2 separate regions of the Homo sapiens genome follow, and region 2 is linked to region 1. The links are contacts of gene promoters, found by promoter capture Hi-C in blood cells and fetal thymus (Javierre and others, 2016). All regions are on one chromosome and are shown on one strand. Each heading gives the region's core, a stretch centred on a gene start or on the middle of the fragment in contact. The rest is flanking DNA. Distances are from core to core; before and after follow the strand shown.

Evidence for each region. The method cuts DNA at HindIII sites, captures the fragments that hold promoters and counts their contacts. A CHiCAGO score of 5 or more calls a contact.
Region 2: a contact is called between the fragment with the promoter of RNASE3 here and the fragment with the promoter of PNP in region 1, in 3 of 17 cell types (neutrophils, M0 macrophages and monocytes). The highest score is 9.6, in neutrophils.

What each region holds. Positions count from the first base shown.
Region 1 is chr14:20,465,697-20,471,852 of GRCh38, forward strand. It overlaps PNP (purine nucleoside phosphorylase), which reads left to right and starts at 3,710. Exons shown (of 6, transcript NM_000270.4): 1 at 3,710-3,839. The coding sequence starts at 3,829. RefSeq lists enhancers at 3,477-3,981, 4,172-4,241, 4,272-4,401 and a silencer at 3,642-3,761. The HindIII fragment of the contact is 7,340 bases long and covers 1-4,826 here.
Region 2 is chr14:20,888,894-20,895,049 of GRCh38, forward strand. RNASE3 (ribonuclease A family member 3) reads left to right here and starts at 2,492. Exons shown (of 2, transcript NM_002935.3): 1 at 2,492-2,558; 2 at 2,789-3,455. The coding sequence starts at 2,794. The coding sequence ends at 3,276. The region is part of intron 1 of LOC100507513 (a long non-coding RNA gene); the gene reads right to left. The HindIII fragment of the contact is 4,045 bases long and covers 2,458-6,156 here.

The DNA of each region.
Region 1 (6,156 bases), core at 2,460-4,959:
GGCTTCCCTTTCTAGGAGCCAAGGTCTTTGGAATAGAGGGTGGTAGGCCAGTCCTTTATCTCTGCTCTGTTCTTCCTGCCACTGAGTGAGGCACAGATGGAAGTCTCACTCTTAGAAAAGAGAAATAAAAGTGATCCCTATAACAGAAAGAGAAGGGCTGGATGTGCTGGTTCATGCCCATAATCCCAGTACTTTGGGAGGCTGAGGTGGGAGGATCACTTGAGCCCAGGAGTTTGAGACCAGCCTGGGCAACATGAAGATACCCCATCTCTAAAAAAATAAAAATAAAAAATAGGCGAATGCGGTGGTGCGTGCCTGTAGTCCTAGCTACTTGGGAGGCAGAGGAAAGAGGATCGCTTGAGCCTAGGAGATTGAGGCTGCAGTGAGCTGAGATTGAGCCACTACACTCCAGCCTGGGTGGCAGAGCGAGACCCTATCTAAAAACAAACAAACAAACAACAACAAAAAAAAAACAGGGAAAAACCCTAAAATGTTTTAATTTCAGTAATTGGAGAAAATGGAAGACCAAAGATTATGGTGATAAGGGGAGTAGATATTTTATTTTATTTTTTGAGATAGGGTCTCACTCTGTCACTCAGACTGGAGTGCAGTGGCTCCATCACAGCTCACTGCAGCCTTGACTTCCTGGGCTCAGGTGATTCTCCTGCCTCAGCCTCCCTAGTAGCTGGGACCACAGATGCCACCACACCTGGCTAATTTTTGTATTTTTTGTAGAGATGAGACTTCACCATGTTGCTCAGGCTGGTCTCAAACTCCTGGGCTCAAGTAATCCTCCTGTCTTGGCTTCCCAAAGTGCTGGGATTACAGGTCTGAGGCACTGTGCCTGGCCAGGGATAGATATTTTTAAAACCGCATATTTAGCTTGTGATCTAGAGAGAATAAGAGATCTCAGTTGAGAGGGCAGGAATAAAATACGTTCCACAAGGCAATACTGAGTGACTTAGAACCTATTCCTGCCACTTTTTTTTAGTTTCCTTGATCTTGCGGGTGGAGGGTAAGTGTGTTACTAAGTATGTTCCTGGACAAGGAGTCCCTCTGAAGATAGAAGTGATGAGAAGATAGAAGAAAAGGTAATAAGGCATTAATGAACTCTAATCACACTAAGATTGATGATCGTCTGGTTCCTGTCTATAGGAATGCTACAGGAACTCTTTTACCCTAAAAGTAAATAATAAAGCACAGTTCCAGTTTCTTTTATGTGGATACAAGGTGGCAGTGACTAGAAAAGATAAGAACAGTGCTGTGCTCTAGCATAAAAACGTAATTATGCTATGCAATATGGTAGCCACTAACCACATGTGACTATCGAGAAGTTACAATGTAATTAGTATGATTAGGTAACTGAATTATTTTTATTATATTTCATCTTAATTAATTTTATTACTTTTAAATAGCCACACATGGCTAGTGCCTTCTGTTTTGAACAGTGTGGGATTCATTGGTATTGATAGGCTGGATATACCTCTAGTTTTTATTTTGATTCAATTTATGGTTAGGTGAGTCTAGAAAGAACAAAAGAGAAAGAGACAATGGAGATTAATCATAATAGCCAGCATTTAATGTGTGCTTATTATATATCCAGGCATTTACCTAAACATGTAAAAGGTATTCTGTATAATCCTTGCAAAAATACTAAGATTATTGCTATTTTACAGATGAAAAAATTGAAGCATAATAAGAATTTTACTTGCCTAGAATCACACGAGTAAATAAGGGGTGAAGATGGCATTCATACACAGGTAGTTTTATTAGAGCCCATTCATTTACACTACATAGATTCAGGAATGAGGTGGCATGGAGTGACTGGGGCCATGGTTCCCAAACTGTGCCAAAGTACAAGCTCACAAGGGTATTGTGGAATATTTTTAATTTTCAGAGGAAACACAGCAATATTTTATATTTCTTAAACACTGTGTGACCTATTAACTTGAGGTGATTCACAGTTGGAACATTAGATTGTGCTACATTCCTTTTGATGACAATATATCTGGCCAGGTGTGGTAGCTCATGCCTATACTCTCAGCACTTTGAGAGGCCGAGGTGGGCAGATCAGTTGAAGTCAGGAGTTCAAGGCCAGCTTGGCCAATATGGCAAAACCCCGTCTCTACTAAAAATACAAAAATTAGCCAGGCATGGTGGCAGGCACCTGTAATCCCAGCTACTCGGGAGGCTGAGGCAAAAGAATGGCTCAAACCCAGGCAGCAGAGATTGCAGTGAGGCAAGATCGTGCTACTGTACTCCAGCCTGGGTTACAGAGTGAAACCCTGTCTCAAAAATATATATATATATAAAGACAACATATCTTTACAAAAGATGGTTTTAGAAGGTCCCTCTGATAAAAATTAAGTATTAAGTAAAAAAAAAAAGTACTGTGTAAAAATCAGCATGGAACAGAAAATGAGGGTGGCAGCATTGGATTCCTGCATGTGAGAAGTTGAGTAGTGCCAAACAGATGTACATATCCCGTAAGTAACTGTTTGTGGTTATTTAAGAACGAAATTTTTTTTTCAATTTGTGTGCATTGTTATTTTCAAAGTGCTAGTAAGTTCTCAGGAACCAGCTACTCACTCTGTTGCCCAGGCTGGAGTGCAATGGTGTGATCTCAGGTCACTGCAACCTCCACCTCCCGGGTTCAAGCCATTCTCCCTGCCTCAGCCTCCCAAGTAGCTGGGATTACAGGCGCCTGCCACCACGCCCAGCTAATTTTTTGTATTTTTAGTACAGATGGGGTTTTGCCTTGTTGGCCAGGCTGGTCTCCGACACCTGACCTCAGGTGATCCACCCACCTCGGCCTCCCAAAGTGCTGGGATTACCGGCGTGAGCCACCGCGCCTGGCCTTTATATATAAATTTTTTTTTAATTTTTTAAATTAAAAATTAAATGTAAATTTAATGTAAAAATGTAAATTAAATGTAAAAATTAAATTGTAAATGTGGGCAGAAGTAATAGTTGTATTCTACCAAAGACACGCTATTTATGTTATATTCTGGTACCCGTGTATTCCGATAACAGAATTTTCTTCGTGGGAGGAGTCCTCTAGTTACCTGAATTGCTTGGATCAATATTGCGCAGATCAAGGGATTATCTGTGTCCCTACCCACCAAATCCATCCTTATCCTTTCTGTCGGCATCTAGGACCCCGGAATTCTTGCCTGAGAACTTTTTCTTCTCCCGGTCTGGGCCTGGATGTGCTCTCCTAAACCCTGTATCCTCCAAGTTAGCACTGTTGCCGGGGGCGACCCAGCTTCCCTTGTCCAGGGAGCAACTCAGACACAGTCTCGCTTCATTTTTATTCTGGGGTTGTACAATCTAAGGTATGAAATTTTTCCTTTTTGAATCTCTCACGGTTTGCTATTGACACAGCTGGAATGAGGTTGCAAGGAGAGGGCTGGGGGCTCTCCTCCCTACTTCTAGCCCTATTTCCGCATAGGCCTTCTTGCTGGGAACTCCTGCCCTGCGGACTGGAATGGGTACCGAGATGAAATGCTGGGTGCGCTCCGGCTCCCCCCGCCCGCCCCGGGGCAGAAGGTTTAGGGCTGGGAAGAACTCTGATTAGGTTTACAGCCCAGGTTCAGCCGATTGAATTAGGGTGTGTCACCATGGAGACAGGGCCGGCCCGCGTGCTCGCTTGCCATTGGCTGGGGACTCCAGGGCAAGGGATATAAGCCAGAGCCTAGACCAGTGAGCCAACTGTGCGAACCAGACCCGGCAGCCTTGCTCAGTTCAGCATAGCGGAGCGGATCCGATCGGATCGGAGCGGATCGGAGCACACCGGAGCAGGCTCATCGAGAAGGCGTCTGCGAGACCATGGAGAACGGGTGAGGAGGGCACCAGGCCCGCAGGACCCTTGGGGAGGGGCAGGTGCTGTGACCCGGGAACCTGGCACACTGGGCCCAGAGGGAGCTGGCGGAGGGAGCGAGCGCCCAGGGGATGCAGAGAGGCCTGGCACTGAGCCTAGTGTCGGGAGCAAGGCGGCAGAGTCATGCGGCAGCCAGCGCGGGCAGGGACGCACGCGGGAATCGAGCTGGGGTGGCGCCACCGGAGCAGGAAGGGGACAGGTCGGTGCGGTCTAAGCTACTCCGTAAAAGCAGCCGTTGTGTGTCTCCGTGTGTGTGTTAGGGGAACAAGTGGAGAGTGAGTATATGTATATATCCCTCACTCCATACCAGGAGGAGGTCTCCTCACCCCCTGCGCTCTTCATAAATTCCCATGCTAGGGTCTGGGTAAAGCTGCGAGGTACTTTTGGTGCTCAAATTCGGAGTTCCTCCTTTAGAGGCAAGATTACTCACCTCCTTTGCCAGTTGCACTCCTCCCTTCCTTCCAGACTGGCAGTATGATTAACTCGGTGGGAAGTGACTGCTAAGTGGAGACGGAAATCAGTCACCGAACTGAGCAACAGTCCTGTGCTCACTTCCCCCACCCCACGCCTTTGAAAACTCTTCTCTCGGCTTGGGTCCTGGATATCCCAGTCCAAGTGACCTGCATTAGGCATCACAGTTGCTTTTGGATGCCCAGGGAGCCAGGGTGTTCTTGAGGGGACTGATAGCCAATGAGGAAGTGCTGTGAGATGTGGCTAGACATGCCATGTGGCGGCAGCTTCACACATTCATTTCCTTTGCACCTTTTGGGGATGCCATTTGATTAACATTTTACCAGCTTAATTGCTTCTCTCCATTGTCCTGTGGCTCCGTTGACCAGCCCCCAACCTACCTGATCCAACTGCTTCCCTGAGGGTAGCCTGGTGTATTGTGCAATCATGTCTGGTTTCCCGGGCTCTGCTTTCCAAGTAAAAAATTTCCTGTGAAAGCTTGGTTAGTTGTGTTCAGCTCTGTCACACCTCATTGCCACCTCTGAAAGCAACGTTTGGTCTTCCCAGATGGATGTGAGAGAACTGGACTTGGAACTGGGAGAAAAGTAACACGGGTTGATTCTTGCTAGTGTAGGGGTTCTGGGTAAGTGCCCTGAGGTTTCTGAAGAGCAAAGATCCTCGGTGGAGAGAAAGGAAACTGGGAGGAGGCAGGGAGGGGGAAGGACAGGAAGAAGACCACAGGCAGGTGGAAAGCAGGAGAAAGATTCAAATACTTTGTGTAACAGAGCCATAGGTCTTTGGAAGTTGTTAGCAAGTATTCAATTCATTTTCAGATTGAGCCTATAAGATAGATGGGGCCAATTTACATCCCTTGTTTATACCTGAGAAAATAATTTAAAGCACAAATTACATGCCTAAAAAGACAATATTGGGACTAGAATCTAGGTCGAATTCTGCTTCCCTCCAGACCAGCAATTCCTAAACCTGGTTTTATTTTATTTTATTTTTATTTATTTATTTTGGAGTCGGAGTCTCGCTCTGTCTCCCAGGCTGGAGTTCAGTGGAGCGATCTTGGCTCACTGCAACCTCTGCCTCCCGGGTTCACACCATTCTACTGCCTCAGCCTCCCGTGTAGCTAGGACTACAGGGGCCCGCCACCACGCCCGGCTAATTTTTTTTTTTTTTTTTTTTTTTTTGTATTTTTAGTAGAGACGGGGTTTCAACATGTTAGCCAGGATGGTCTCGATCTCCTGACCTCGTGATCCGCCCACCTCGGCCTCCCAAAGTGCTGGGGTTACAGGCATGAGCCACCGCGCCCAGCCCCTAAACCTGGTTTTAAAATCAAAATTACATGGGCTTCAGAATCTGTTTTTTGTGGGGGTTTTGTGTGTGTGTGTGTGTGTGTTTTTTATAGGGTCTCACTCTGTCACCAGGCTGGAGTGCCAGAATCTGTTTTTCTAACAAGCTTCTGCTGAGAATTTGTGTAGTCAGTCCTGGTTTAACCTTTGACAACCAGTACTGTGGACTGGGTCTGCTTTTTTGTACAGCAGTTTATCTAGTTTTTTGTCTGGAATTAACCCCCTTGTGATCCAGGGAGCTAAGAATGGCACGTAGACCTCTACCAGGGGTGGTCCCATTGTGTTTTATTGGTTAAAACAAAAAAGAAATGTAGCCCTTAAGTCTTTGGCTGAGGAAGGAACTGGAGGAATGAGGGTTCAAAAGGAAATTTGAGTTTATCTCTGCCTTCATAGTAGTTGGTCTTAATTACATTTTGAATGTCTTTGGGGAACAGGTAAGGTAATAAGGGGGATTTTACTAGGTGGGCA
Region 2 (6,156 bases), core at 1,242-3,741, 420 kb after region 1:
AACATCTTCTCTCAAAGGTCATAAATATCAAAGTAGATCATTTGTACTACTTCTGCTGGCAAATGAAGGTAGTTGGAAATGTACGCAGGAAATCTACACAAGGGACAATCAGAAAAACCTTATGAGCATGTTCTGAATGCAATTTTTATGGCTGGGAGCAGTGGCTCATACTTGTAATCCCATCACTTTGGAAGGCCGAGGTGGGCGCATTACCTGAGGTCAGGAGTTTGAGACCAGCCTGGCCAACATGGTGAAACCCCGTCTCTACTAAAAATACAAAAATTAGGCGGGCATTGTGTCGAGCGCCTGTAATCCCAGCTACTCAGGAGGCTGAGGCAGGAGAATCACTTGAACTTGGGAGGCGGAGGTGGAGGTTGCAGTGAGATCACGCCACTGCAGTCCAGCCTGGGTGACAAGAGCAAGACTCCGTCTCAAAAAAAAACAAAAAACAAAAAACTCCACAATTTTAAAGGATGAATATGGTTGCAAATTGGGCAGGTTATGGTCTGCTTAAGACACTTCAATAAGTCTGATATGTCATAAGCACAGATGTCTTCAGGAGCCAGGCAGGTGTCATCACTGAACAGATAGGATAAAAGTCAGGAGGGAGAGTGGAGTCAGAGAACAGCCCTGAGCTAGAGCCCCTTCCACAGACGCAGCTGTTACTCAGCTCTAATTGATACAACACCAATGGTGCACCAACCACCATCATGTGATTTTTAAAGATAAGACAGTAATGAAAACTTTTAGTGAACTATTCCAATGTCAAACTTTATCTTCCAAACCAAACATCATAAATAGCACTGTGTATGCTGAAAAGAAGCACTGTTTAGCCAAGTACCTGCCCTGGGGCTGCAGTCTATGTCTTTTGCCTCATACTATAGACACTTAAGTGCAAATGTTTCTAGCCAGTGTGGCTGTCAGCATCACAGAGGGGATACTCTACGTATCATTCACCTTTACATTCTCATCACCTACAAAAATGATCTCCACACAATATACATGAAAAAATAAACTTGCCTCATGATAAAGCTGCTAATGAATGTCGGCCAGAACAGGACTTCAAGGCAGAGCAATATTAGCTGCGCATTGAGTCCTCACCAGGTCACCATTGTGTCCACATTTACCTAAGGACCCCAGTGATAAAATTATTGCATTTCTAAATGACAGGAAAATTGGACGGTAGTAAAAATTAGGCAGATTAACTGTTGGAAGGTATATTATATCATTTAAGGGTCTACTTTCCATTTTCTAATCTCAAAGCTAGACCAGATTTAACATCTGTTAGTACCCAGGCCTTACCTTTGCAATTCACTTCTCACCTCTGTACAATTTCCCCACATCATCCCCTGTGCCCAGAATGCTCATCTCTTCTCTAAATCCCCTGAAAATCCCCTGCTTATCCTTTAGGACCTGCTGAAATAAACTTTTTTTTGAAGTTTTCCTTATTTCTCAAGCCAAGTGATTTCCTTCACCAGCAGTGTCCCTATGACACCATGTTCACACAAATGCTATTACCTCTATCACACTGTAATACAATTATATGTCTACAAGTACTTTCCTGTGTTTCTCTGAGGGCCAAGAATAAATGTATGCTTTGTGTATCAAACTGTACACTTGACCTCTATACTTTCAGGAATACAGTGCTCTGTCCTTAAATGTTCATTTGTAAATACAGAACCATATTCTTGTTAATATCACAAAATGAAACTTACCAGGAAGATGAATGACAACCCCAGAACACACTGTTTTGTAGAAAATACCATAGGCTGAAAAGATCACAGGAATACCGAGTGCTAGGTTGGAATCTTTCATGACACCAAATGTTCATTCATCCTCTGCCAGATTTTACAACTGTCCTCGGTGTGTTTTTAGGTTATGTAACTTTACACAAAGTGGAATCAATAATCAGGGCAAGACTTAAGAGAAAGTGGATCCAATGCAAGAGGAGTAAAGAAAAAAATTCCTCAATTGTATGGAGCAGATTGTTTTAATTATCTACAGAATCTTGTGCCCCAAGAAATTAATAGCTCAAGTTTCCAGCAAGAGTGGTGGATGAGATGGAGAGCATTTATGTGAGAGAGAACCAAGGATATTACTAAAAATGGAAGGGAAGCTGGGTTTCTCCTGGGCAAACAGCCCTCTGTGGCTCTATTTCTCCTAACTACTATGCCTGCCTTCGTGTCATTTAGTCATTTAGGGGCCTGCCAGAGGACAGTTATAAAATCTGTGGTCATTCTGCCGGCAGCGTATAGTTTTCACCCAGAGTCCAGATCCCACCGGCAAAACTCTGTCTAACACAGGATGACTTGGAATTAGAGTCCGTATAGCAGAAAGAGCAGCAGGGCTGTCCTTGGGTATCCGTTGCTCAGCCAAGTCATCAAATAAAAAGGATGATTGCACAAGTGGACCATGTGTCAATCTGTGGGTTTCTGCATGGCCAGACCCACCAAGGGAAGCTTTATTTAAACAGTTCCAAGTAGGGGAGACCAGCTGCCCCTGAACCCCAGAACAACCAGCTGGATCAGTTCTCACAGGAGCCACAGCTCAGAGACTGGGTAAGTCAACAATCCCCAGAGCTGGGACAGGAGGGGCAGCGACAGGGCAGCACCTGAGGGAGAGGTGAGCTGAAGTTAGTGCTTAGGAGATGTGGCACACTTTGGGGACAGGAAGAAAAGGAAATGCGACCCCAGAGTGGCAGCAGAGGGGCCTGTGGGTTGAGACACTATAGAGTGTGTCATAACCGAGACCGGATCGGGGAGTAGTTACTTCTCTTCTTTTCTTACAGGAAACATGGTTCCAAAACTGTTCACTTCCCAAATTTGTCTGCTTCTTCTGTTGGGGCTTATGGGTGTGGAGGGCTCACTCCATGCCAGACCCCCACAGTTTACGAGGGCTCAGTGGTTTGCCATCCAGCACATCAGTCTGAACCCCCCTCGATGCACCATTGCAATGCGGGCAATTAACAATTATCGATGGCGTTGCAAAAACCAAAATACTTTTCTTCGTACAACTTTTGCTAATGTAGTTAATGTTTGTGGTAACCAAAGTATACGCTGCCCTCATAACAGAACTCTCAACAATTGTCATCGGAGTAGATTCCGGGTGCCTTTACTCCACTGTGACCTCATAAATCCAGGTGCACAGAATATTTCAAACTGCACGTATGCAGACAGACCAGGAAGGAGGTTCTATGTAGTTGCATGTGACAACAGAGATCCACGGGATTCTCCACGGTATCCTGTGGTTCCAGTTCACCTGGATACCACCATCTAAGCTCCTGTATCAGCAGTCCTCATCATCACTCATCTGCCAAGCTCCTCAATCATAGCCAAGATCCCATCCCTCCATGTACTCTGGGTATCAGCAACTGTCCTCATCAGTCTCCATACCCCTTCAGCTTTCCTGAGCTGAAGTCCCTTGTGAACCCTGCAATAAACTGCTTTGCAAATTCATCTGGAAGTGTCTGTGTGTCTTCCTCGGCCGCTCTGCTGTCATTTAGTGACAATCTGCTCTAGAGATTTGGGTTTATCATGAATCTCTCCCCCTCAATATCTGACCAAATTCCTTAATTCCCCCATCATCCTTCATGTGATACCTGATTCCAGGCCTGCCTTAAAAAAAAATCCAATTGAGTCAACTTAGCATTGGTCTCCCTAGCCTTAATATCTCCTCTAAGCAATTTTCCATCCACTGACTCCTCCCCCAACACCAACCTATAACTTGTGTATAGATCTCCACTTGTTTTAGTTGTATTCCAGAATTGAGCCCAATTTGATATTGAGGTCCCATTTGATGCTTTATGGTCCGACTATGGTTTTTATTGACATGATTTCTATCCCAAGAAAAAAAGAGCTGCAGTGAATCAGCTGAAAATGCACGTGCTTCATTATGATTTATGAATGATAAATTTTGATAGAATTGAACGTTATGATAGAAAATAGAAAAGAAGAAAGTAGAAAAAGTCAAGAATGCTATAAATAAGGTGAAACCAAGATAAAGAAAAGTTTAGCCTCAGGGATATTTCTTTTAAATGGGCACATCAAGTCTCCAGCTATTAGCAATCGTAATAGAGGTGGAACCAGGGTTTGAGTCAAATGTGCAATAAGATAAATTGTTCCGACAGCAGTAAGGACAGATTGTAATGCTGACTGGAGGAGAGGTGGACATCTTTCCCAAAAGTTCCATGTCCTGGAGATGGGGAGCCGCTGGTCACGTGGGAAGGAGAAGGGGGAGGAGGAGGAGGAGGAAGTGGGAGCACTCATGAAGGTGAGTTGGCTCCTGCCCATTCTGCCCTCCATAGATGTTCCCAATGGCGAGTCAAAGGTTCATTCAACACCTGTCAGGAAGGGCACAGCCTCGAGAATTCAGGATTTGTAGACCCAGAGAGAGAAGAAATGGATGATGAGAGCCGCTGCCCTGGACTCCAACACAGGGCTTCACTCAGGAATCCATGAGAAACAGGGGAGAAAAAGGGGAAGCCCCTTCCTGCAAGTTGTGGACAGGTGCAGCATTCAAGTGATTGTTCCAGGAACAGAGTGGGTCTTTTTGAATGGCCCGACTCAGAATGCAAGAGAGGTACGATGCCATCAGATCTGCACCTTGGTCCTTCAGTCTGAGATTTCTGACTTCTATATTTCTCCTCCTCTTCCAGACCCTGAGAAACAGCAATTTCCATTCCTCAGATGACTCCATGTCAGTAATGGTGCTTTAATTGGCATCAGACAGCAGCTGTATTGAAGTCTCTCCTCTGGAGAAGCTATTGAGATCTTGCTTCTCCAAGGTCGGGCTGTGAACTTAAAAGTTTGCACAGAGACACTGAGTTTGGGAAATCTCAGTGCTCAACAGAATCCACTGACTCTAGGTAAAACAGGGCATGTCAGGAAGTGAGTGCAGTCTTCCCATAACCTCAGAGTAGCAGAAGGAGAAGGTGGGACTCTGAAAGCTGGAGCCACGTTTCCTGTGAAGAAAGATGGAGTGGACCTTCCTTGCTTCAGGTACCAGATCACAGGTCTCTTCTCAGTCGGGGATGCCTCATCTCTAAAACCACAGGATAGAGGGATCAGTCCCCACCTGCCCCCACACCCTCTCCACCTTGTGACTTCATCCTCTCTCGTCATTCATTCCTTCGTTCATTCATTCATCCAGCAGTCATCTACTGAGCAGATACCTTGCTCCAGGCACAGTTTGAGGGAGTGATGATGCAACACAAACCAAGACAGGTCCCTGCTCTTTTGAGGCCACATTATACAAGGATAAAAATAAACATACAAAATTGTTCTAAGCATACAAAATTTTGCTAAGTGTCAGGAGGAAAAATACACAGCATAGTACACAGAAAATTACACAGAGCAGCACAATATAGAGGTTCTGTATGTGCCACAAAAGTGACAGGGCAGAGTGTCACCAGGAAAGACTTATCTCAGAGAATGAAATCTGAACAGGAGGAAAAGCAGCCAGTCATGCAGACACCAGATGGAGAATCATCCCAGCAAAGAGAAAGAGAGTTCAAAAGTCCTGACAAATACCAAGGCTGTAAGAAGACTTTTCGTTCTGTGTTTACGATAAGTTGATTAAAACATCTGAAGGAGAATGACTACCATTATTCGCATCTTTGTATGTATTTATTCCTTAATGTAATAAAACATTTTCAGTTTTAAAAAATGGTCCTGAATGGATAGAGGTTTGGCGTGTTAGAAGCACAAAAGTTGTTTGGTCAGGACAAGATCATCATAGCCATGAGTGTTAATGATAGGAGTTAATGAGGTTCAGACCCTTCATGCCTGTGAAGATGGAAGAATAAAGTAAGTTCCTCATGGGGCACAAATCGAGCATGTTACATGCAAGAATAACATTGCCTAAAGATCTGTCCAGCTGCTGTGCAAAACACAACTATTTGGGAGACAAGAGTGGAAGCAAGGCCCCAATGAAGGACCACAAGTTGAGGGAGAGGGAAACAAGAGTCTTCCAATCTCAGTGAATCTCACCATCATCCTCTCATGGTGCAGCCCCATGCTATTCCCCTCCCTGTTGCCATGGCCTCTCTCCAGCCCCTCCATGCCTTCCACATCATCTTCCTGCCATCCCCATGCTGATGACTGGGCTGAGGTCAGAGGCAGCTCCCCTCTCCCAGGACGTGAGACGATTCAAACAAGA